Linked DNA regions of Homo sapiens: all the other regions are linked to region 2. Evidence: promoter capture Hi-C in 16 types of primary human blood cells and fetal thymus (Javierre and others, 2016). All regions are on one chromosome and are shown on one strand. Each heading gives the region's core, a stretch centred on a gene start or on the middle of the fragment in contact. The rest is flanking DNA. Distances are from core to core; before and after follow the strand shown. Region 1 overlaps PDGFRA (platelet derived growth factor receptor alpha). Region 2 holds the start of FIP1L1 (factor interacting with PAPOLA and CPSF1). Region 3 has its middle 42 kb from the start of GSX2. Region 4 has its middle 10 kb from the start of GSX2. Region 5 overlaps CHIC2 (cysteine rich hydrophobic domain 2). Region 6 has its middle 9.1 kb from the start of GSX2. Region 7 has its middle 4.8 kb from the start of CHIC2.

Region 1 (3,374 bases), core at 488-2,987, 900 kb after region 2:
GAGCAACTTTGGAGAAAATACTGAGTTCTCCTGATTGAATTTTGTCCCCTTCTTGTATAAGGAAAGAGTTGATGTAGTTTCCTGGGTGTAGATGGTTTGAGAGATGGTACTGCCTATCCCTAAAATGAACCAGGCAGCCCTCACACTTCCCCACCAGCAGTGAGAGATTCCTGGCTCAGACACAGCCACACTACCTTGCTGCCCCTGTGCATGTCTGCCAGGAAACTTTTCATTGTGCCTCTCTCTCTTGTCACGTAGCCCTGCGTTCTGAACTCACGGTGGCTGCTGCAGTCCTGGTGCTGTTGGTGATTGTGATCATCTCACTTATTGTCCTGGTTGTCATTTGGAAACAGGTAGATATTTTCTCATAAAACTAAAGATCTTTGAAGCCAATGAGAACAAGCATAGCAACCTAGTTCAGTGCTTGGCACAGAGAAGGAGCTCAGCAATTACATGTGGAGTGAACGTTGTTGGACTCTACTGTGTCCAGTCACTGTGCTGCTTCAGTGAAGCTCTGGTGCACTGGGACTTTGGTAATTCACCAGTTACCTGTCCTGGTCATTTATAGAAACCGAGGTATGAAATTCGCTGGAGGGTCATTGAATCAATCAGCCCAGATGGACATGAATATATTTATGTGGACCCGATGCAGCTGCCTTATGACTCAAGATGGGAGTTTCCAAGAGATGGACTAGTGCTTGGTAAGTTCCATGGGGTAACCTCCCAAGACTCCCTTTTCCCTTGCACACAACTTTACAATTTATAGGCCTTGGCAGAATAGAGATCTGAGCTTGTGCTTAGTAAGAACTAGGCAATGGAAATTTGCTTTCAGAAATACATTTCTGTCTTGACAGTAAGTTAATTGGATCATTGCAATGATTTTTTTAAATCTCTTTCCATAACAAATTATAGTTAAGGAAAATTTTACAAAGGGAGAAGAGAATATGAAGAGGGCTGGCAAAGATACCCACCAAAATTGCTTTTCTTTAGAAATGACACAAATTGAAAATGAATTTCTGTGACTAAAAATGAGCAGATGAGAAATGAATGAGGACAACCACAAAATGTATTTTGATTCAGTACATTCTGAAGATGCATTAGATACTCCTTTTTACATATTTGGAATATGGAATATAAAAATATAGGTACATTTTGAGGCAAAATATGTAAAAATAAGCAAGCCAACTTATCACAAGCATTTCAAGTATTTCAATCCTGGGCTGAGACCAAGTATATGAAGCTTTAGTCCAAGGGAGTATTTCTTTTTTAAATCACATTCCTAATGAATGAAAGCAAGACAAAGGCAAATGAAAGTAGAGGTAGAGGTTGTGTTATGATGAATGATCTAACAGTATATATGTTAAAGAATGCCAAATGCAGGTTTTAATTATCCACCGGTCTCATTGCAAAATACAGAAGAGTTTAAGTCTTCTTAGAGAGTTAGGTAAACTGAAATCAAGCAAGGCACCAGAGTGAAATCACCTTTGCAAAAATTGTAACTGAGGAAATTATGACAGTGAATGAGATATGACCTAACCAACTCCATTTTGCTTTAGCCTCCAAGTTGTCCTTGTTCCTTCCTGGGCATAGGCCGAACTAACTTTGAGAGGAACTTAGTTTATAGTTTGACTTTGAAAAAAAGACAATAATAGCCCTTTGCCAAAACAAACCCTCTTTTTCCCTGGGAACTAGACTGCCTTTGCGGGACTAACGAATTAGCTACAAGATTAGAAAGTATGGTTTAGGGGTCACTGTTGTAAAACCTGAGGTCAGTGCTTGAGATATTTTGGAGACCCTGTATTTCGATGCACCAGCTGACACCACCCAGGTCAATAAACTGGCTCATCTGATCTTGGGGCCCCTACCTAGGAACTGACTCAGTGCAAGAGGACAGCATCAGCTCCCTATAATTTCATCTTTGACCCAACCAATCAGCACTCCCCTTTTCACCCCCTACCCACCAAATCATCCTTAAAAACCCCATTCCCCCAGTTTCAGAGACACTGATTTGAGTAATAGCAGAATAGTAGAAATTCCCCCAGTTTCAGAGACACTGATTCGAGTAATAGTAGTAATAGTAGAATAGGTCTCCCGTACAGCTGGCTCTGTGTGAATTAAACCCTTTTTCTATTGCAATTCCCCTGTCTTGGTAAATCGGCTCTGTCTAGGCAGCGGACAAGGAGAATCCATGGGGCGGTTATAAGAGCTGCCCCCCAATTTCAAATATTTATATCTAAGCTTTCTTTATTTTCCTGCCTATTTCCCAACAAGGGATGAGGAGCTTAGGGAGTTAAAAAGTAGTAAAATATGGGGAAAAGGGCATAATTCCCATTATACCAAGAGGCATTGCTGGTGAAGCAATACCTTTCCAGGTACGATTTTCAGTAACACAGACGTGCAGTAAGAGGCAGTGTTGGCTGTTAGTGTCTTTTATGAGCCAAGTCTTTTCCTGGCTTGGCTATCCGTGGTGAGACTGACACCCCGGGAAATGTTTCTCTCAGGGTGAGCTCTTTCAGGGTGGGACAACAGCTTCAGTGTCTTTACGTATGTCTCCTCCCAACATGAAGCTAATTGCTGTGCTCTCGGGCATGTTTAGCTCTTGGTAGAGTGGCTTTCCTAACAAATAGGGAGCAGTGAGCCCAGCCTGAAGTTTTTATTTAGTCACTCCTTAGAATCAGTGATATTTTGAATACTGAAGTATTTCCAGTGGCTAGTAATTTACTAAGACAAAAGATGCCCCTGTTTGCATATGGAAAACAGAAGGGGAGAGAGCCAGGAGGTGTGGGTGAGAGCCCCGAAGGCAAGAGGATCCCAGGGGCTGGCCCAGCACGGAGCTGGTAGACAGCGCGCTCACACCAGGGAGGGCTGCACCCTCCTTTCTCCCGTCTGTGTTTTCTTTCCCTTGCAAGTGTTATTCGACAAAAGCAATTATGCTAATTTCCTTCCCTGTGGGCTCAATTCCTTTTTTGACACGATGACTTGGAGGAGTCATTATGATTACTCCAAACAGGAAAGACACTCGCCCAGCTGTCCGCCCGCAGAGAGCTGGCTACGGTGCAGAAAGCTGAGGAGGCGTCTGGAGTTTTTGGGTGTTAATGATTCTGCCTGCCCACAGGTCGGGTCTTGGGGTCTGGAGCGTTTGGGAAGGTGGTTGAAGGAACAGCCTATGGATTAAGCCGGTCCCAACCTGTCATGAAAGTTGCAGTGAAGATGCTAAAACGTAAGTGCTCCTTCCTGGGGATTTTTTGAGCACGGGGATTTTTTGAGCATGGGGATATTAAGGGAATTTCTCAAAATCATGCAGCTAGTAAATAAGACATTTAGGACTAGGTCCTGATTATTTTGACTCCAGGTTTTATGTGTATTTAGATTAG
Region 2 (2,987 bases), core at 375-2,874:
CCTAGGTGGAAGGATTGCTAGAGACCACGAGTTCCAGACCAGCCTAGGCAACATGGTGAGACATTGTCTCTACAAAAAATAAAAAATTAGCCAGGTGTGGTGGCACCTGCTTGTCTGTAGTCCCAGGTACTCAGGAGGCTGAAGTGGGAGGACTGTTTGAGTCTGGGAGGTAGAGACTGCAGTGAACAGTGACCCTGCCACTGCATTTCAGCCTGGGTTACAGAGTAAGACTGTTTTTTAAACAAAACAAAACAAAACAAAACAAAACAAAACAAAACAAAAAAACAGGCCGGGCGTGGTGGCTCATGCCTGTAAGCCCAGCACTTTGGGACACCAAGGTGGGCAGATCACCTGAGGTCAGGAGTTCAAAACCAGCCTGGCCAAAATGGTGAAACCCCCTCTCTACTATAAATACAAAAATTGGCTGGGCATGGTGGTGCGTGCCTGTAATCCCAGCTACTTGGGAGGCTGAGGCAGAAGAATCGCTTGAGCCCAGGAGGTGGAGGTTGCAGTGAGCAGAGATCGCACCACTGTACTCCAGCTGGGCAACAGAGTGAGACTCCGCCTCAAATAAATAAACAAACAAACAAAAAACCTAGACAAACCTAGAGCTCCAGTTTGAACCATGGTATGTCATCTTTTCACTGGAAGATGTGCTTTCAGAAGCGGCCTGAACATTTGGTTTACCTATTAAAATAAAAACTGTACATACTTTATGATCTATCTTTGAGAAACAGACAAATCTGCAAGGAGCCGTGTGGATCTTCATTGTCATTTTTTGTTGTAGTTAAAAGTGTAAAGTCAAAAGCAATCTGGGTGTACATCAATGGAGAAATAGCCATATTCACTCTGTGATAGCCATACTATGCAATTTTATGAAGCACTTAAAATAGATATAGTTTGATTCATACTAAAATGAAAAAGAGCTCCAAGACACGGATGCTAAAAAAAAAGAAAAAAAAGGAAGTCGAAGGATGATACTATACTGTACTGTACTATTTAAGACTTGTCAATCTCAGGTTCTCCCACCAAAACAGCACAACACATGAAGTAAGTGTATAGGAAATTTCGGAATGATGAACTCCAAACAGGATATGCATCTGTAGCAAGGGCTACCTCCGGAGAGAAGGGTAGGGGAATGAGGCGGTCTTTGACCTTGACAGTAATTTATGGTTTTTAACAAGGAGAGTGCATTCTTCATCTATTAGTTTTGCTTTTGTTGGCTGTGAAAATTAATTTTTTGAGAAATAGTACTGATTGTGATTTCTTCTCTATTCAGTGAGGAAAGGGAGTGACAGGTAATGATTCTGTATCAAGGCTGATTAAAGAATAAAAGAAGGCCTTTCTGAAGATTAAAAAACAAATAAAAAGTTGAGAAGAAAGAGCACGAAGAGTAGAAGGGAACAATGGTGTACTCGCCAGCAATGGCAATACGGGTTATTAAAAAGAAGGGTGGGGGCGGGGAACCCTGGCCGACTCAGGACGCCACGGGAGGAAGCCACGCAAAATAGCAAACCGGGATCCTAGAGGGGCGGGGCCCACCTCAGCGCGCAGGCGCAACCAGGCCCAGGTGGCCGCCGCGGAAGCGAAGCCACCTATACGCGCCGCGCCGCTTGGGTCTCCTGCGCATGCGCAGACGGACCTGCGCTGGAGGCTTCATCTTTGCCGCCGCTGCCGTCGCCTTCCTGGGATTGGAGTCTCGAGCTTTCTTCGTTCGTTCGTCGGCGGGTTCGCGCCCTTCTCGCGCCTCGGGGCTGCGAGGCTGGGGAAGGGGTTGGAGGGGGCTGTTGATCGCCGCGTTTAAGTTGCGCTCGGGGCGGCCATGTCGGCCGGCGAGGTCGAGCGCCTAGTGTCGGAGCTGAGCGGCGGGACCGGAGGGGATGAGGAGGAAGAGTGGCTCTATGGCGGTACGAAACTTCCTGTCTCTGTCTCTCGGGTTCTCTCAGGCCTCCCCTCTTGGCCCTCAAACGGCCGGCGTCCCTGGCCTCTCGCGCCGCCGCTTCGGGCCTCTGGTTGGGAGTCCTGTCCGGCCTGACTTAGGCCGAGCGCGGCGTGCGCGTGCCCCCAGTCCCCGCGGCGGTCTCCCGCCTGGCCCACGCCCACCATGCGCATCCACCCCTGTGGCGGCCGGGCCGGGCTGGGGGGCTGTGACCGGTCCTGGCCCCCGGCTTCGCTGTGCTTTCCCCGAGGCGTCTCGATCGCCTAGCTGCTGCGCTCTTTACCCTTGTTTTTTTCTGTCGATTCTGAGGTGGTGGTTTTTGGTGTCTGTTTTTGCCCTGTGGCCTTAGGGTGCCCTTCCTGTCCCTTCTTTCAGAAACAGTCATTCTGTAATAATAGCTAAATAAAGTTAATGCTGTACAACTAACGTCTTGTTTCTTGATGGTCAGTTTGTATGGAATGCACCTGCAAGGGTACCTCCTTGTCTGAAAGTCGTGCTTTAAAAATAATTAATTAAGAGAGAGAGAGAGAAAGATGGCCCATAAAGAAAACTCTGAATGTCTCCTGTATTAAGGTGAAGTTATTCTTTTTTAAGAGACTACCGTTTAACCTACATCATGGAGGTATCTCATGACCCTTCGGCTTATAGTTTTCAGTGTCATCTCATGTATTTGTTTTTCTCAAAATAAATTTAATGCATCATGTACTTCTCTCTAGAAGGGTACTTGTTTGACATCTGGTTTTTAACTTTAAGTCACAATCCCTTCTTGCTTGTTAACACCAGATTTGAAAGTTAATGTTTGTTCCTTGCCTAAAACATATATTCTTGATTGTCTTTAGAATAGAATAGTAAAAGTGCACTTTGGGCACCATGCAGGTCCTTGATGATGTGACTTTGATAAACTTGTAAAAAAAAATCGTTTGGTGGCAAGATTTAGCATTAGTTACTACTCTTTGAAATGTGAATGTGTAGGATTTCTTTTACAAAGATCTGGAAATCTTCATTACCTCTTAAATTTAAGCTTATTTTTATAGCAGTAAAGTCTGAT
Region 3 (3,341 bases), core at 744-3,243, 760 kb after region 2:
GGTCTGGCAGCACTCATCACAAGCTGACAAAAGGGCCCTTGGGCTTTAAGTGAACATCAGCGGTAGCCTGGCAGAACCCCTCGTGGGGTGCTTATGGTGGTGGCCACAGGGAGAGAAAAGTGGGAAGGACTTTGTCTTATGGTTTGAGTGCCAGCTTTGCTGCAGTAGAGTAGAATACCCGGTAAATTTCTAAGGTATTTGACTTAAATCCCTGGCTCTCAGACAACATCTCTGGACCAACCTAGGTCTGGAGGAACTCACTGCCCTGAATGGAGGGACATAAATCAGACTGGCTTTGCCATATGCTGATCATAAAGCCCTAGGTCCTAGAGTGAACTTAGGTGGTAGCCAGATAGTAGTTACAGCAGGCCTTGGGTGGGGCCCAGTGCTGTGCTGGTTTCATGTCTCAGCCAGCACAGTCCTGGTGGTGGTGGCTACAGGGTACTTGTGTCCCTCCACCTCCAGTTCCAGGAGACTCAGCACAGAGTCAGGGAGAGACGCTGCTTGTGAAAAAATAAGAGAAAAAAATAAAAGTGTCTGCCTGGTAATCTAGAGAATTCTTCCAGATCTTATCCAAGACTACCAGAGCAGCACCTCTATGAGTCTGCAAGAAACATAATATTATTGGACTTGGGGCCCAAGTTCCTTCAAAATACCCGGAAAGCCTTTCCAAGGAGGATGGGCACAAATAAGCCCAGACTGTGAAGACTACAATAAGCGCCTAACTCTTCAATGCCCAGACATTAACGAACATCTACAAGCATCAAGACCATCCAGGAGAAAATGACCTCACCAAACAAAATAAATAAGGAACCAGGGACCAATCCTGGAGAAACAGATATGTGACCTTTCAGACAGAGAATTCAAAGTAGCTGTGTCGAGGAAACTCAAAGAAATCCAAGAAACACAAAACAGAAATTCAGAATTCTTTTTTTTTTTTCTTGAGATGAACGCCCAGGCTGGAGTGTAGTGGTACGATCTTGGCTCACTGCAACCTCTGCCTCCTGGGTTCAAGTGATCTTCCCACCTCAGCCTCCTAAGTAGCTGGAATTACAGGTATGTGCCACCACACCCAACTAATTTTTATGTTTTTAGTAGACATGGAGTTTTGCCATTTTGGCTAGGCTGGTCTTGAACTCCTGACCTCAAGTGATCAGCCTCCCAAAGTGCTGCGATTACAGGTGTGAGCCACTGCGCCTGGCCAGGAATTCAGAATTCTATCAGACAAATTTAACAAAGAGATTGAAGTTATTAAAAAGAAATGAAATTCTAGTGCTGAAAAGTACAACTGCCATGCTGAAGAATGCATCTGGGTCTCTTAATAACAGACGTGATCAAGCAGAAGAAAGAATTAATGAGCTTGAAGACAGGCTATTTGAAAATCCACAGTCAGAGGAGACAAAAAGAAAGAGTAAAAAACAATGAAGCATGTCTACAAGATATAGAAAATAGCCTTAAAAGGGCAAATCTAAGCACTATTGGCCAAAAAGAGGAGGTTGAGGAAGAGATGGGGATAGAAAGTTTATTGAAAGGGATAATAACAAAGAACTTCCCAAACCCAGAGAAAGATATCAATATTCAAGTACAAGAAAGTTATAGAACATCAGGCAGATTTAATCCAAAAAAGACAACCTCAAGGCATTTAATAATCAAACTCCCAAAGGTCAAAGATAAAGAAAGGATCTTAAAAACAGCAACAGAAAAGAAACAAATAAAATATAATAGAGCTCCAATACATCTGGCCTCAGACTTTTCAGTGGAAACCTTATAGGCCAGGAGAAACTAGCATGACATATTTTAAATGCTGAAGGGAAAAAAAAAACTTTAACCCTAGAATAGTATATTCAGCAAAATATATCTTTTAAGCATGAAGGGGAAATAAAGACCTTCCCAGACAAACAAAAGCTAAGGGATTTTCATCAACACTAGACCTGTCCTATAAGAAATGCTAAAGGAGGCCAAGCGTGGTGGCTCATGCGTGTAATCCCAGCAGTTTGTGAGGCTGAGGCGGGTGGATTGCTTGAGGCCAGGAGTTCCAGACCAGCCTGACCAACATGGTCAGGTGTCTCTACTAAAAATACAAAAATTAGCTGGGTGTGGTGGCGCATGCCTGTAGACCCAACTACTTGGGAGGCTGAGGCACTATAATTGCTTGAACATGGGAGGCAGAGGTTGCAGTGAGCTGAGATCATGCTACTGCACTCCAGCCTGGGCAAAAGAGTGAGACTCCATCTCAAAAAAAAAAAAAGAAATGCTAAAGAAAGTTCTTACATCTGAAAGAAAAGGACATTGATGAGCAATAGGAAGTCACGTGAAGCTACAAAACTCACTGGTAATAGCACACAGAAAGACATAGAATATTATAACACTTTAATTACGGTGTTCAAAATACTCTTAAGCAGAAAGACTAAGCAATGAACTAATCAAAAATAATAACTACAGCAATTTGTCATGACAGACAGTACAATAAGACATGAAGAGAAACAACAAAAAGTTAAAAAGCAGGAGGATGAAGTTAAGAGTTTTTATTAGTTTTCTTTTTGCTTATTTGTTTGTTTATGCAATCAGTGTTAAGTTGTCATCAGTTTGAAACAATGGGTTATGAAACAGTAGTTGCAAGCCTCATGGTAACCCCAAATTGAAAAACATACAATGGGCCAGGCACAGTGGCTCACGCCTGTAATCCCAGCACTTTGGGGGGCTGAGACGGACGGATCGCTTGATATGAGGAGTTGGAGACCAGCCTGGCCAACATGGTGAAAACCCTGTCTCTACTAAAAATACAAAAATTAGCCAAGTGTGGTAGTGGGCACCTGTAGTCCCAGCTACTCGGGAGGCTGAGGCAGGGGAATCACTTGAACCTAGAGGCAGAGATTGCAGTGAGCCAAGATTGTGCCACTGCACTCCAGCCTGGGTGAAAGAGTGAGACTTCATCTCAAAAAATGACAACAACAACAAAAAACTGGACTCTTTCATCATTATATAATAACCTTCTTTGTCTCTATAGGCGGCAGAAACAAAGAAGGTCATTATATAATAATCAAGGAGTCAGTTTAGCAAGAAGATATAACAATTATATATGCACCCAACACTGGAGCATCCAGATATATGAAGCAGCAAATATTATTTAAGGTAAAAAGACAGCCCTCAGTACAATAATAGCTGGAGATTTTAACATCCCACTTTCACCAATGGACAGATCTTCTAGACAGAAAATCAACAAGGAAACATCAGGCTTAAACTGCACTATAGAACAAATGGACCTAATAGATATTTACAGAGCATTTCATCTGAAGGCTGCAGAATACACATTCTTCTCCTCAGCACATGGATTATTCTCA
Region 4 (3,366 bases), core at 143-2,642, 710 kb after region 2:
TGTGAGCTTGTAGGGGAAGAGTTCTCAACAGAGGGGAAGGCTAGAGAGGGCCAGACCAGCAAGGAAAACAGAGGGAGCAAGTAGGCCAGTGGTTGGAGTGGTCAGAGACAGCCATGGTGGCATCATGGAGGGCCTTTTGTTCTTGGTCTGACCTGATCAGACTTCTATTTCAAAACGATCCTTCTGGCTGCTCTGTTGAGAACAGATTGTAGAGGCAAGTATAGGAAGAATGAACCCAGTCATCCCTATGCAGTGGTGATGGCTTGGACCCGTGCGATAGTAGTTGGAGTGTTAAGAAGTGGTCAGTTTCCAGTTACATTTGAAGTTAAAGCCTTCAGGACTTCATGATGGGTTAAATGTACAGGATTAGAGAAAGAGCAAGAGAGGAGTCACAGAAGATTCAAAGGATTTGGGCAAGAGCCACCAGAAGATGGAGGTGCCAGCAACAGAGACCTGAGGGTAATGCAGGAACCTGGAACTCCTGTACCTTCTCTTCTCCTAGTTTCCAGGGCATCTTCCTGCAAGTGTATAAAACTGTAGGTAGAGGAACAAAGCTGATATGGTCCTATTTGGTGACTGTAGGAGAGACTGACCACTAAGACCATTTCATCCCTTGAGACCTCAGTCTCCCTACTTATAACATGAGATAGGTCAGTTACATAAGGACAGAATTCCTTTCTTGCTGTTAAATTCAAGAACCTAGATCTGCAATCGGTTCTCCAATCTTTCAAGCCTTCTTTTTGATTTTTTTTCCTTGGGAAAACATCTCAATAATGAAATCCAATCTTTAAAAATTTTGGTTTTAAACAAAATTATATTGTGATCAGCTTGAGCCTAGGAGTTCAAGGCTACAGTGAGCTATGATCCCACCACCACATTCCATATATATATATATATATATATACACACACATATATAGTGATCAAAATATTTGATCAAAATATCAAAAAATGTTTTTAATAAGTCAGCTTCTCTAAAATAAAAATAAGTATGTCTTGCAATTGTTTATACAATACCTTGTTCCAGGGAGGTACATGGCTAATCAGGAAACATATTTCCTATGTTGTATTTAATCAGAAATTTTGCTCACAAGGTTAAATTACAGCATTCATTTTGTGCCACTGTGAAAATATTCCCTTCCATTTTAACAGGACTAAAAATGCTTCCAAAGCTGCCTAAAAGAATATTCAGCTCCTATAGGTTCTTGCTGCATTTTTATTTCCCTTGGTAACAGTACTTTTGATAACATTGGTGGAAGAAAAGAAGTCATAGTAAAGGATGAAGATGGAGTATCTGATACTATAACACTAGCCTGATGCTAGAGGAGAATGTAATACAGGCTGAATATTGAAAATTTGCAACTTATTGAGCACCAACATGACATCACAAGTGGAAAATTCCACACAGAAGTACTTAAAACATATTGCTTCATGCAAAAAATCATTTAAAATATTGTATAAAAAACTTTTAGGCTATGTACACTGAATAAGCTGTATGTGAAATATAAATGAATTTTGTGTTTAGACTAGGGTCCTCTTCCAAGATATCTCATTATATACATGCAAATGTTCCAAAACCATAAAAAATCCAAAATCTTCAGACACATCTGGTCCCAAGCATTTCTAATGAAGGATACTCAATCTGTATAAATTATACACAATTTAATTATTTTATTTTATATATATATATTTTTTAGATGAAGTTTTGCTCTATGGCCCAGGCTGAAGTGCAGTGGTGCAATCTCGGCTCACTGCAACCTCCACCTCTCAGGTTCAAGAATTCTCCTGTCTCAGCCTCCCAAGTAGCTGCGGCTACAGGCGTGTACCACCACGCTGGCTAATTTTTGTATTTTTAGTAGAGATGGGGTTTCACTATATTGGCCAGGCTGGTCTCGAACTTCTAGCCTCAAGTAATCTGCCTGCCTCGGCCTGCCAAAGTGCTAGGATTATTGACATGAGCCACCACAACCGGCCTAATTTAACCTAAATCCAGAAATAATCCCTTAAATTTTGTAGCTCACAAACGCATCCTCCCTCTTTCCCCACAACATTCCATCAGACTCAGGGAACGTCATCACACATCAACGTCGTCATAGTTTGTATACTGAGTGCTAAGTATGTGCAAGGCGTTGTGCCAAGGGATGTCAGGCTTAACTCACTTAATGCTCACAACCATCCTGTGAGAAGAGGGTCATTATTATTTCCATGGTCAGAGAGAAGGTGGATTCACATCCAGGACCTCCTAAACCCAATCCCAAACTCAGTGGTGCAGTGAAAGGGTGAGGTTGGGTTGGAGATGAAATGGATTTGCACTGATTTCAATGCATCGTCTTATTACGATCAGTGTTTGTCTCATAATCTCCATGCCCCTCTGCTTGAGGACAGAGGCGACAAAACTTGTGTATGACTGGCATTTTGCAAGCTGGTTACACATTAATAAAAGGCCCAGTGGAAGTTCCAAAACAAATGAGATCTAAGCTATCTTGTTCTCACGGTTTCCCAAGCCCAAGTAGAGCCTGGCATACTATAGGCACACCATGGGTGCTCCCTGAGTACATGAACATAAAGATGATCCACAGGTGGGTGAACAATACTGGGGGCAGGTGAAAGGGAGGACCTCGAGGCAATACTGCCAGAGCCCCTCCTGCTTAGAGTGTCCAGGCTTCTACATGGGGAGACAGCGCACCCCCCAGACACTCCCGCCCACTCCTTTCTGGCTCGCTGAGTGACGCCAGTTTCAAGCCTCAGCCCACGCCAGGCTCCAGGACCAGCAGAGCGGGTCTGCGCGGACAGAGGCACTGGGCTGCGCCCGTAGCGCACCCCACCAAGAGGAAGGCGTGCCTAGTGGGGAGGCGGGGCTCCAGGGGCCGGGCACACGCAGACACACTCCTGCTCTCTCTACGCACGTTCTCACACTCTCATTCACACCGCACTCACCCTGTGCACATCCCCAGTTTCTCGTATTCCTCACATTCACACATTCATACACTCATATATTCACACACACCCATGCTCCCAAACACGCTTCACTCACACAGCTCCGCGCACAGGGATCAAAGACCACATTGGGTACAGTGTACACTGCTTGGGTGATGGGTGCACCAAAATCTCAGAAATCACCACTAAAGAACCTATCCATGTAACCTAACACCACCTGTTCCTCAAAAAACTATTGAAATAATTTAAAAATAAAAAAGGAAAAGCAATCTCATTCCCTACCCTCATTCTAATTCACTTTTCACCTCTTCACACACCATCACGCCCACGTACCTTAATCTCACTGTTGACAGTACACTTATGCTCGCGCTCATGCACACTCGCCCCCACCTCGCCTTCGCTCTTTACACGAGCTTGCGCGCAGACACAC
Region 5 (3,179 bases), core at 448-2,947, 670 kb after region 2:
GAACAGGCAACCTACAGAATGGGAGAAAATTTTTGCAACCTGCTCATCTGACAAAGGGCTAATATCCAGAATCTACAATGAACTCAAACACATTTACAAGAAAAAGCAAACAACCCCATCAAAAAGTGGGCAAAGGATATGAACAGACACTTCTCAAAAGAAGACATTTATGCAGCCAAAAAACACATGAAAAAATGCTCATCATCACTGGCCATCAGAGAAATGCAAATCAAAACCACAAAGAGATACCATCTCACACCAGTTAGAATGGCGATCATTAAAAAGTCAGGAAACAACAGGTGCTGGAGAGGATGTGGAGAAATAGGAACACTTTTACACTGTTGGTGGGACTATAAACCAGTTCAACCATTGTGGAAGTCAGTGTGGCGATTCCTCAGGGATCTAGAACTTGAAATACCATTTGACCCAGCAATCCCATTACTGGGTATATACCCAAAGGATTATAAATCATGCTGCTATAAAGACACATGCACACGTATGGTTATTGCAGCACTATTCACAATAGCAAAGACTTGGAACCAACCCAAATGTCCAACAATGGTAGACTGGATTAAGAAAATGTGGCACATATACACCATGGAATACTATGCAGCCATAAAAAAGGATGAGTTCATGTCCTTTGTAAGGACATGGATGAAGCTGGAAACCATCATTCTCAGCAAACTATCGCAAGGACAAAAAACCAAACACCGCATATTCTCACTCATAGGTGGGAATTGAACAATGAGAACACATGGACACAGGAAGGGGAACACCACACACCGGGGACTGTTGTGGGGTGGGGGGAGGGGGGAGGGATAGCATTAGGAGATATACCTAATGTTAAATGACGAGTTAATGGGTGCAGCACACCAACATGGCACATGTATACATATGTAACTAACCTGCACGTTGTGCACATGTACCCTAGAATTTAACGTATAATAATTAAAAAAAAGAAACCCTGTCTCTATTTTTTTAAATACATTTTTAAAAAATAAAATTTATTTATTTAAAAAAATTTTTTTAAAGTATCATTTTTATACATATAAATACAATTTTTGAAAATTTTAACAAGAATATAATACATTCAATCTATAATAATTTGTCATATCTCTACCAACATCTTAAAATTTTGTTTATTTGTTTGTTGAGACAGAGTTTCACTATTGTTGCCCAGGCTGGAGTGCAATGGCACGATCTCAGCTCACTGCAACCTTCGCCCTCCAGGTTCAAGCGATTCTCCTGCCTCAGCCTCCTGACTAACTGGGATTACAGGCACCCGCCACCACGCCTGGCTAATTTTTTGTATTTTTAGTAGAGACAGGGTTTTACCATGTACGCCAGACTGGTCTTGAACTTCTGACCTCAAGTGATCCGCCCGCCTTGGCCTCCCAAAGTGTTAAAATTGCAGGCATGAGCCACTGTGCCTGGCCAGAATTTTTTATTATAAGCAGTCAAAATAATGAGTCTTTGAAATTATTTTTTCTGATTACAGAATCACTTTGTGCTCACTACAGGAAACTTGTAAAATATAAAAAGCAGAAAAGAATGTCCCATAATCTTACCAACAAGAAACAACCATTGTAACCATTTTATTTCTTGTATGGGTACCATCTTACAGTCAGTAAGAATACTATTAATTAATACTTATTAACCACTTCCTTTGAGATATTCAGCTAAGAGTTTTCCAAACATTTTCATTTTACCTTTATATTCAAGTAGTAGGTGAACATTTTACAGTTGTGTCAAGTAGGGTTTAAAGAGGTTAGGAAACGTGCCTAAGGTCACAGAGAAAAGTGGTAGAGCTGAAGCCAGCATCCTTGATCACTATACCACACCACTGTCAATGTACAGATACAGACAATGCCATACACTACTCCTTGCTTCTAAAATTATAAATATAATTTTTAGATGGCTATTTAATAACAGCACTTGGATATATAGTAACTTTACTGACTCACTCCTCTCCTGGATCAGATTATTTTCATATTTTATTCAGGATAGTGTGATTCATTCAATACAAAAAATAAAAACTAGATAAATGCAAGACTTGCTTGTCCACTTCTAAATTTAAATTAAAATATATAATTCAACTTACTCTTTTACTGAGGCAAATAACTGGCCACATACTGCAACCTAATGTGCAGCAGCAACAAAGGCAGCCACAAAGTAGCCAACGTACATTAACAGGAAGGTTCTTCTTAAGACAACTGTTAACTCTGTTGATGCTGGCTTTAAATTCTTCAGGAGCTACCTAAAGAAAAATTTTAAGAAATAATAACAATGCAATATTAATGTCAAAAAACATGACTGATGAGCATACTTTTTTCTAATTTTCTCAGAAAAAAACTTTCATTTTGAGGCATACAAATAGTACATAAATGAGACACTCACTTTTCCAGTTAATGAAGAAGGGAATTCAGATTCAAATTTGTTGCTCAGTCCAAATCTATTTTAAAAAATAAGAAGAATATGTTATTACATGTTATTGTTGCCAAAAATGTAGACCATTTAATTTAAAGGTCAAGTCAATAGAAAGCATTTTCACATATGGAGGAAGTTTTAGACATAAAATGGAAGTTTGAGATAAAATAACTGTAACAAGCAATTTATGAAATGTAACAATTATTTTAGCAGTTAAATGGAAACTTTTGCATAATGATAAGGGGCTGAATGTTAATTAACCAGCAGTATGTAAACAAAAATATAAATGGTTCATTTAATTTGAGCTACCAACTTTATATCTTAAAAAGTAACTACAAAGCATATTATTTTAATGGGTGGGATAGCGATTTTTTCCAGCTTTTAATGTTATTGGTGGAAACAAACAATACCTGTGAATTTTAGCAGGTGTCCTACACAAGCAATAAGATGAGAAGGAAAAATGCAGGAAAAAGAGTGAGGAGGGGAAGAATAAGGAAAAAGGGAGAGAAAAAATAAAAAAGTAGGAATGGACAAAGTGCTACCAAGAACCGTCTTAGGTTCCATTGAACACCTATTTGTCAGTGCATTAGATGGTATGAAAGAAAATGTAGACGTGTACTATACCTATATCTATTCCTATTACCTAAAAGACCTTTTCTTGAATCATGGTTAAAATATTCCATGGCTTTAGAATTGATAAAAGATTTAAACTATTTTCAAAGAATGGTAAATATAACAAGAAGATAAAAGAC
Region 6 (3,160 bases), core at 74-2,573, 730 kb after region 2:
GAGCAGGGTGAGAAGCTCTGCCTGCCCCAGACCTTGAAGGATTATAATGGAAATTTTTGAGAGTGTGAAAAAGAAAGAATACGAAGGAGAGGGAGTGCATGCTTTTGGAGACTTCCTTCACAAACCCTAATTTAGATTGTTTGGGGTCAAGCAGCAGCCAGCCACCTTCCTCCTTTCCTCCTTAATTAATTAATAAGAATGATTAATTATTAGGATTTTGAATGTCAAGGCTTCAAAATGCCTTTGGCTAGAGGCTGATGAGTTGCTTAAGCCATACATGTAGTTTTAACTTGGGATAAGGGAGTTGAGACTTTAGAGGTGTGTTTGCTGTCACTCTGTCTTTTTTTTTTTTTTTTTTTTTTTTTGCCTTTGCATCTGCTTCCCCAGTGATCTTTCTCTGTCTGCATTTCTCTGTCTTGTCTCCATCTCCTTCTGCCTTGATATCCGCCCCCACCCCCACCCTTTGTTCTCCTGGCCGTTTTCCCCATCCAGTCTCCCCTGGCCATGGCTCAATCCTCCTAGCTCTCCGGGGAAAGAGGAGGATGCTAAAGCTGCCATTCCTACTTGGGTATCTACTGCGGGCACAGGCATCTCGGAATCCCACTGCATCATCGGTGGCAGGAAGTGGGTGGGCATTAATGTAGTTTCACTCGCTGGATCGAGAGTTATTGACAGCTTAGATTTTCTTTTTTCTGCTTGTCAAAAATTTCTTTCTCTTTCTTTTCTTCTCTTTTTTTCTTTTTTTTTTTCTTGGATACGGGAACCAGAACCACGAAATCCTGCAAGCTTTGAAGGCCGGCGAAAGGGCTCCCCCGTCGGTGGCGCCGGAGGGAGAAGCGTTTAGTCACTGTTTCATTAGGCACTATTTGAACCTTGCAACATGTGGTAATTTCTGGGGCAAGCTGAAAAGGGGGGATTATGTAGGAGGGACATAAGGAAATTAGCCAACGGTTAATTTAACTCGTTTTCTGCTAGACTTTTCGATACATTCCTAATTGACTGAGGGGCAGGTGAAGCTCCCGCCCCATGCAGGCTCATTCACGGTGGGAATAAATGGCTCTTTCTCAACTCACACTGCTCACAATATATCATCAGGGAAAAGACATGCAATGAATATGTTGATTTTTTTTATTAATGGAATTACACCCTGCCATGCAGGTGTGAGGGTAAAAACCTATACTGCAATGAAATAAGATTAACAATGAAATTAGAATTTTATTAGCTTTATATGTCACACAGACCTGGATTTGAACTGTCAAAACAAGCAACAAGAAAAGATATTCTGAACGCAGCCCTGTCAATCAACCAGGAGAAACGAACAGCGTGGTATCGAAATCATAATCACCTTCCAGTTCTTCAGCGCCTCACTTGGGCCTTACGTGAGAAGCAAGTGGGTGGAGGACCCCGCGTGGGCAAAGGCCTGGTCTCTGGACCTGCAGATAGTAGATGAAAAACACCACCTGGGTTCGGTAGACCCGGCCTAAAAAAGGCTCGGGTCCAGGCTAGAAGGGCCTGGATGGCCCGAGGCCTCCAAGATATCAGACGGACCGGCTGGGCACCCGCGGCCTGCAGGCCATATTTCGCGTCCTCCAAATCAGCTGCCTAGGGCGGGCCGTGACCCGAGGGAATTGGAGAGAAAAGTCCAAACGCTGGGCGAGAGGCGGGGTAGGGCGCCCTTTGGAAACCGCCCTGGGTTTTGTTACTCCGGGGCCCCCGGAGCTTCGGCACAGCTACCTGGGTCTGGCAGGCGCAGAGGTGCCGTATGCAAATGGTTCACTATTAGGCGAGAAAGAAATACTTCAAATGGCCCTTTGTAACCTTCTATAGAAAATCGAGGTACTCTGCATGACAAAGCACAATTAAGCTTTCTATTCAGGAGTTCTGCAGCTGGTAGCCCATTGGGAAAGTGGGAGGAAACGCGAATATATTAATAGTGTGGCGAAAGTTTTTTGTGTGCGTGTCCTTTTCTAGGTCGGGGGTGGGGAGGGGCGGTGGGTGGACGCAGAGGGAGGAAGGCTCAGCCTTGGATCCTTGCCACCTGAACAACGTCGCCTCTGCCCACGTGGAAAGCCTCGCTTGTCTGGCAGCCGGGGTTCTGAATGGTTGCCGCGACCCCTGCGCTCCCAGCAGGGCCAAGAGGACCTCGCGGGCACCAGCGTCCGGGCGGGAAGGGACGTGTGCCCAAGCCTCGCCTCCTGGCCCTCAGTGGGCTGGGACGCCCTTGATCACCGGCGCAGGAAAGAGGCTCCCCAGCCCGTGAGCTTCGTCCGGGCGCCAGGGCAGGGATGGCTGGTGGTGTGCACTGGAGAGCACGACGGTGACGCTGCGTGGGAAAGAGACGTGGGAAGGGCATAGCCGGATTATCCACTCAGCTCCAATTTTCTCCAAGCGCCACTCACCCCACAGTTGAGGTTCGCTTCCCGATTGTTCATTTGTAGAGTCTAAAGGGAAAGAAAATTTTGCCTCTGAATAAATAAAGGGCCCTTAAAAACAACTCTGCTGATTATCCTGCGTTTTCCATCTGGATCCATTTCGCCCTCTTCTGCCCTGCTGGGTGCCCTCGGACACTGACCTTTGTGGACAGTATTAGTTCCTTTATCAACTGCGTCACTGGCAGGCGCTTGCCTCTGGCTTCCATTTGCATTTGGTGAATAAGTGGCACTGCAAATAACCGAACAACCTAAGGATAGAGAACTGCAGGTATATTGTTTCTGGGAATGTTATATTGTTCCAGTTCTGGCAGTTGCTGCTTCTCTAGAAATTCTTTTTCTCTTTGAGAGCCTATTTTCCTAGGCTCTGGCTTTTAATCAGACTCCCCCTGTGCCTTCAGGCATGAAGTGGAAATGCCTTCTAGTTTCTGCTAGTCCCCTGGGTGCATCAAAATTCTTGTTAGTTCCATTAGCCCTACACACATCTCTGCAAATAGTCGCTTTGTTGAAAAGTGTCTTTAAAAACCCTAGCTCACATTGGTTACCTGGCTCCTGATCAGCCATGTTATGTTTAAGTCAATCCCTTCTATAACAGCCAGCTCAACTGTCACCATACTTTTGCTGGGACAACTCCTGTGAGAGGAACTCCACCCTCTAACCCATTTCATTTTCAGACAGCTTTGACCATTAGAAACTTTCTTGTGTTGGATTAGAATCTTCATTCAGTATTT
Region 7 (3,014 bases), core at 365-2,864, 690 kb after region 2:
ATTTTGTCCCCCCCCCCAAATTCATATGTTGAAGCCCTAACCCTCAATGTAATGGTATTTGGAAATGGAGCCTTTGGAGGTAATTAGGTTGAGATGAGGTCAAGAGGCTGGGGCCCTCATGATGGAATTTGTGCCCTTACAAGAAGAAATACTAGATAGTTTTCGATCTCTCTGTGCCATGGGGACACAGCAAGAAGACAGTCATCTGCAAGCCAGGAAGAGAACTCTCACCAGGAACCAAATCATCAGGAACTGTGAGCTAAATTTCTGTTGTTTAAGCCACCCAGGCTACGATGTACTGAATGTTTACATCCCCCCAAATTTGTATGTTGATATCCTAGCCCTCAAGGTGATGGTATTAGGAAATATTAGGGCCTTTGGGAGGTGATTAGGTTATGAAGGCTGAGCCCTCATGAATGGGATTAGTGCCCTCATAAAAGAGGCCCCAGAGAGCTGGTTTGCCCCTTCCACTATCTTAGAACACAGCAAGAAGACAACCATATACAAGGACGAAGCCCCTCACCAGAAACCAAAGCTACCAGCCGTTTGATCTTGAACTTCCAAGTTTCCAAAGCTATGAGAAATAAATGTTTGTTTATAAGTCACATAGTTTATGATATTTGATTATAGCAGCCCAAAGGGACTAAGACACAGTCTATGGTATTTTGTGTGGCAGCCTATTTGTGTGGAAAATACACTCAATGTGCTTTTTCCTATTCTCCTGCTTAACAACAACAACCAACACAGAAGACTCTCTGTGACCAGATGTGTTGGGGGGTTTTCTCCACCAACAAGCAAGCAATCAGTTCTGCAGTGGGCACCAGCTGTATGTCCTAATTCAATTCCAGCACTCTCTACCTGGAGATAGCATCAAATCCCACAGGTTGAGGGCTCAGTCCGCAAGACTGCACCCTCCACTTCAAACACCAGTCACAAGTCCAGGTCTCCAGAACTTCTGACTGACCAGCTATAAATTGGGGTTCCCACAACACCCTCGTCAAGTTCAACTAATTTGTTAGAGCGGCTCACAGAACTCGGGGAAACAGGTTTACCAGTTTATTAAGAAGGATATTTCATTTCATTTCATTTCACTTATTTATTGAGACAGAGGTACAATCACCATTCACTGCAGTCCAATAGTTATTTATTTATTATTTATTTATTGAGACAGAGGTACAATCACCATTCACTGCAGCCTCAACCTCCCTGGGCTCAAGCAATGCTCCCACTTCAGCTTCCCGAGTAGCTGGGAATGCAGGCATGCACCACCACATCCAGCTAATTTTTATATTTTTTGTAGAGATGGGGTTTCACCATGTTGCCCAGGCTAGTCTCCAACTCCTGGGCTCAAGTAATCTACCCACCTTGGTCTCCAAAAAGTACTGAGATTATAGGCATGAGCCACCACACCCAGCCAAGAAGGATCTTTTAAGGGTTACAAATAAACAGCCAGATGAAGAGACACAGAGGGTGAGGTCTGGAAGGGTCTTGGGTGCAGGAGCTTCTGTCCCCGCGGAGTCGGGGTGCTCTGCTTTCCCAGCACACGGATGAGTTCTTGTTCATCTCCCTGTAATCCTCCACGTGTTCAGCTGTCTGGCAGCTCTCAGAACCCTGTTCCTTCAGGGTTTTATGGGGCTTCATTACGTAGGCATGATTGATTACACCGCTGGCCATTGACTTAATCTTCAGCCCCTTCTGGTGATCAGCTCTCATCCTGAAGCTAACTAGGAGCTGCCAGCCTACAGTCAACTCACTAGAATACAGAAAGACATTGCTTTGGAGTTTCTAAGCATTTTAGGTGTTGTATGCCAGGAAACAGGGTCAAAAACCAAATATGTATTTCCTGATATCACACAGCCCAAGCTGACTTGAGAAAGCATATAAACCCTCATTTGTTCACTCATTCATTCATTCAACAAATTTGCATTGAATGCTTCTCATGTGTCACATACTGTGCCAGGAACTAGGGATTTAGCAGTAAACCAAACACAGCCCCTGCCTTTGTGAGCATGAAGTCCACTGGGGAGGACTGACAGATAATTATAAAAATAAATAACTATTAGAATTGTGATCAGTTCTGTGGAGAAGCACAGGGGTCCATGGGAGTAGTAAACCCACCTAACTCACTCCAAGAAATCAGGATTTATTCTCTGGGAAAATGACATGTAAGCTGATGAGCTAAGCAAAGGTATGGAGGTAGGGAAGTAGAGAGAAGAGAGGAGAAAGCTCCAGACAGTGGGAATAGCATGTTTAAAGACCTTGAAGTAGAAAAGAGCACAGCTCAAATGAGGTAAAAAACAAAGCCAGTGTGGGTGGATCATAGTGAGGAAGGCAGAGCCAGATTGGAGTTGAGGTCAAAGAGGCTGGTGGAAACTTGATGGCCTTTGTAAGAAATCTTAAATGCATGCCAAAAGTAAAGGAGCGGAGGATGTGAAGCCAGGCAGTGACATTATCAGATGTGCATTTTTATTATTTATTTATTTATTTATTTATTTATGTATTTATGTATTTATTTATTTATTTATTTTGAGACGGAGTTTACTCTTGTCGCCCAGGCTGGAGTGCAATGGCACAATCTCGGCTCACTACAACCTCCACCTCCCGGATTCAAGCGATTCTCCTGCCTCAGCCTCCTGAGTAGTTGGGATTACAGGCATGCACCAGCACGCCTGGCTGATTTTTGTATTTTTAGTAGAGACGGGGTTTCACCGTGTTGGCCAGGCTGGTCTTGAACTCCTGACCTCAGGTGATCTGCCCAACTCGGCCTCCCAAAGTGCTGAGGTTACAGGAGTGAGCCACCAGGCCTGGCCAGATGTGTATTTTTAAATCCCCAAGTGGGAGACCAGTAGTCCAGCCTAGCCTGCCTGCACCACTTCCCAGCCTGTTATTCTGTAAATGGCACACATTCTGTAACAACACTCTCAGGATTTTTAGTAAATCATATCCCCTCCATCCTCAGTACATGTGATTAGGTTAAGCTGACCATATCTCCAGTTCCAAGAGTGGGCATCTGA

What was found. Contacts are between HindIII fragments. The CHiCAGO score rates a contact against its expected background, and 5 or more counts as called.
Region 1: a contact is called between a fragment that was not itself captured here and the fragment with the promoter of FIP1L1 in region 2, in 1 of 17 cell types (M1 macrophages). The highest score is 6.2, in M1 macrophages.
Region 3: a contact is called between a fragment that was not itself captured here and the fragment with the promoter of FIP1L1 in region 2, in 1 of 17 cell types (fetal thymus). The highest score is 7.1, in fetal thymus.
Region 4: a fragment that was not itself captured here is called in contact with the fragment with the promoter of FIP1L1 in region 2 in 3 of 17 cell types (total CD8 T cells, non-activated CD4 T cells and total CD4 T cells); the score reaches 7.1 in total CD8 T cells.
Region 5: a fragment that was not itself captured here is called in contact with the fragment with the promoter of FIP1L1 in region 2 in 1 of 17 cell types (fetal thymus); the score reaches 5.6 in fetal thymus.
Region 6: a fragment that was not itself captured here is called in contact with the fragment with the promoter of FIP1L1 in region 2 in 5 of 17 cell types (total CD8 T cells, naive CD4 T cells, total B cells and 2 more); the score reaches 7.1 in total CD8 T cells.
Region 7: a fragment that was not itself captured here is called in contact with the fragment with the promoter of FIP1L1 in region 2 in 11 of 17 cell types (non-activated CD4 T cells, total CD8 T cells, naive CD4 T cells and 8 more); the score reaches 15.7 in non-activated CD4 T cells.

The regions. Positions count from the first base shown.
Region 1 is chr4:54,274,273-54,277,646 of GRCh38, forward strand. PDGFRA (platelet derived growth factor receptor alpha) reads left to right here. Exons shown (of 23, transcript NM_006206.6): 11 at 259-353; 12 at 569-701; 13 at 3,116-3,220. Among named protein-coding and RNA genes, the nearest start is that of PDGFRA, 47 kb to the left of the region's middle. The HindIII fragment of the contact is 998 bases long and covers 1,239-2,236 here.
Region 2 is chr4:53,376,017-53,379,003 of GRCh38, forward strand. FIP1L1 (factor interacting with PAPOLA and CPSF1) reads left to right here and starts at 1,625. Exons shown (of 18, transcript NM_030917.4): 1 at 1,625-1,907. The coding sequence starts at 1,823. It overlaps LOC105377654 (a long non-coding RNA gene), which reads right to left and starts at 1,724. Exons shown (of 3, transcript XR_007058118.1): 1 at 1,643-1,724. RefSeq lists enhancers at 1,343-1,891, 1,693-1,782, 1,833-1,952, 1,892-2,440 and a silencer at 2,113-2,202. The HindIII fragment of the contact is 4,469 bases long and covers 1-2,958 here.
Region 3 is chr4:54,140,086-54,143,426 of GRCh38, forward strand. No RefSeq gene overlaps it. Among named protein-coding and RNA genes, the nearest start is that of GSX2, 42 kb to the left of the region's middle. RefSeq lists a silencer at 1,807-2,025. The HindIII fragment of the contact is 7,651 bases long and covers 1-3,341 here.
Region 4 is chr4:54,088,512-54,091,877 of GRCh38, forward strand. It overlaps a transcript of CHIC2 not described here. Among named protein-coding and RNA genes, the nearest start is that of GSX2, 10 kb to the right of the region's middle. RefSeq lists a silencer at 2,827-2,926. The HindIII fragment of the contact is 7,418 bases long and covers 1-3,366 here.
Region 5 is chr4:54,046,854-54,050,032 of GRCh38, forward strand. CHIC2 (cysteine rich hydrophobic domain 2) reads right to left here. Exons shown (of 6, transcript NM_012110.4): 2 at 2,398-2,452; 3 at 2,102-2,257. Among named protein-coding and RNA genes, the nearest start is that of CHIC2, 16 kb to the right of the region's middle. The HindIII fragment of the contact is 6,225 bases long and covers 1-3,179 here.
Region 6 is chr4:54,107,678-54,110,837 of GRCh38, forward strand. No RefSeq gene overlaps it. Among named protein-coding and RNA genes, the nearest start is that of GSX2, 9.1 kb to the left of the region's middle. The HindIII fragment of the contact is 1,078 bases long and covers 785-1,862 here.
Region 7 is chr4:54,067,913-54,070,926 of GRCh38, forward strand. It overlaps a transcript of CHIC2 not described here. Among named protein-coding and RNA genes, the nearest start is that of CHIC2, 4.8 kb to the left of the region's middle. The HindIII fragment of the contact is 3,398 bases long and covers 1-3,014 here.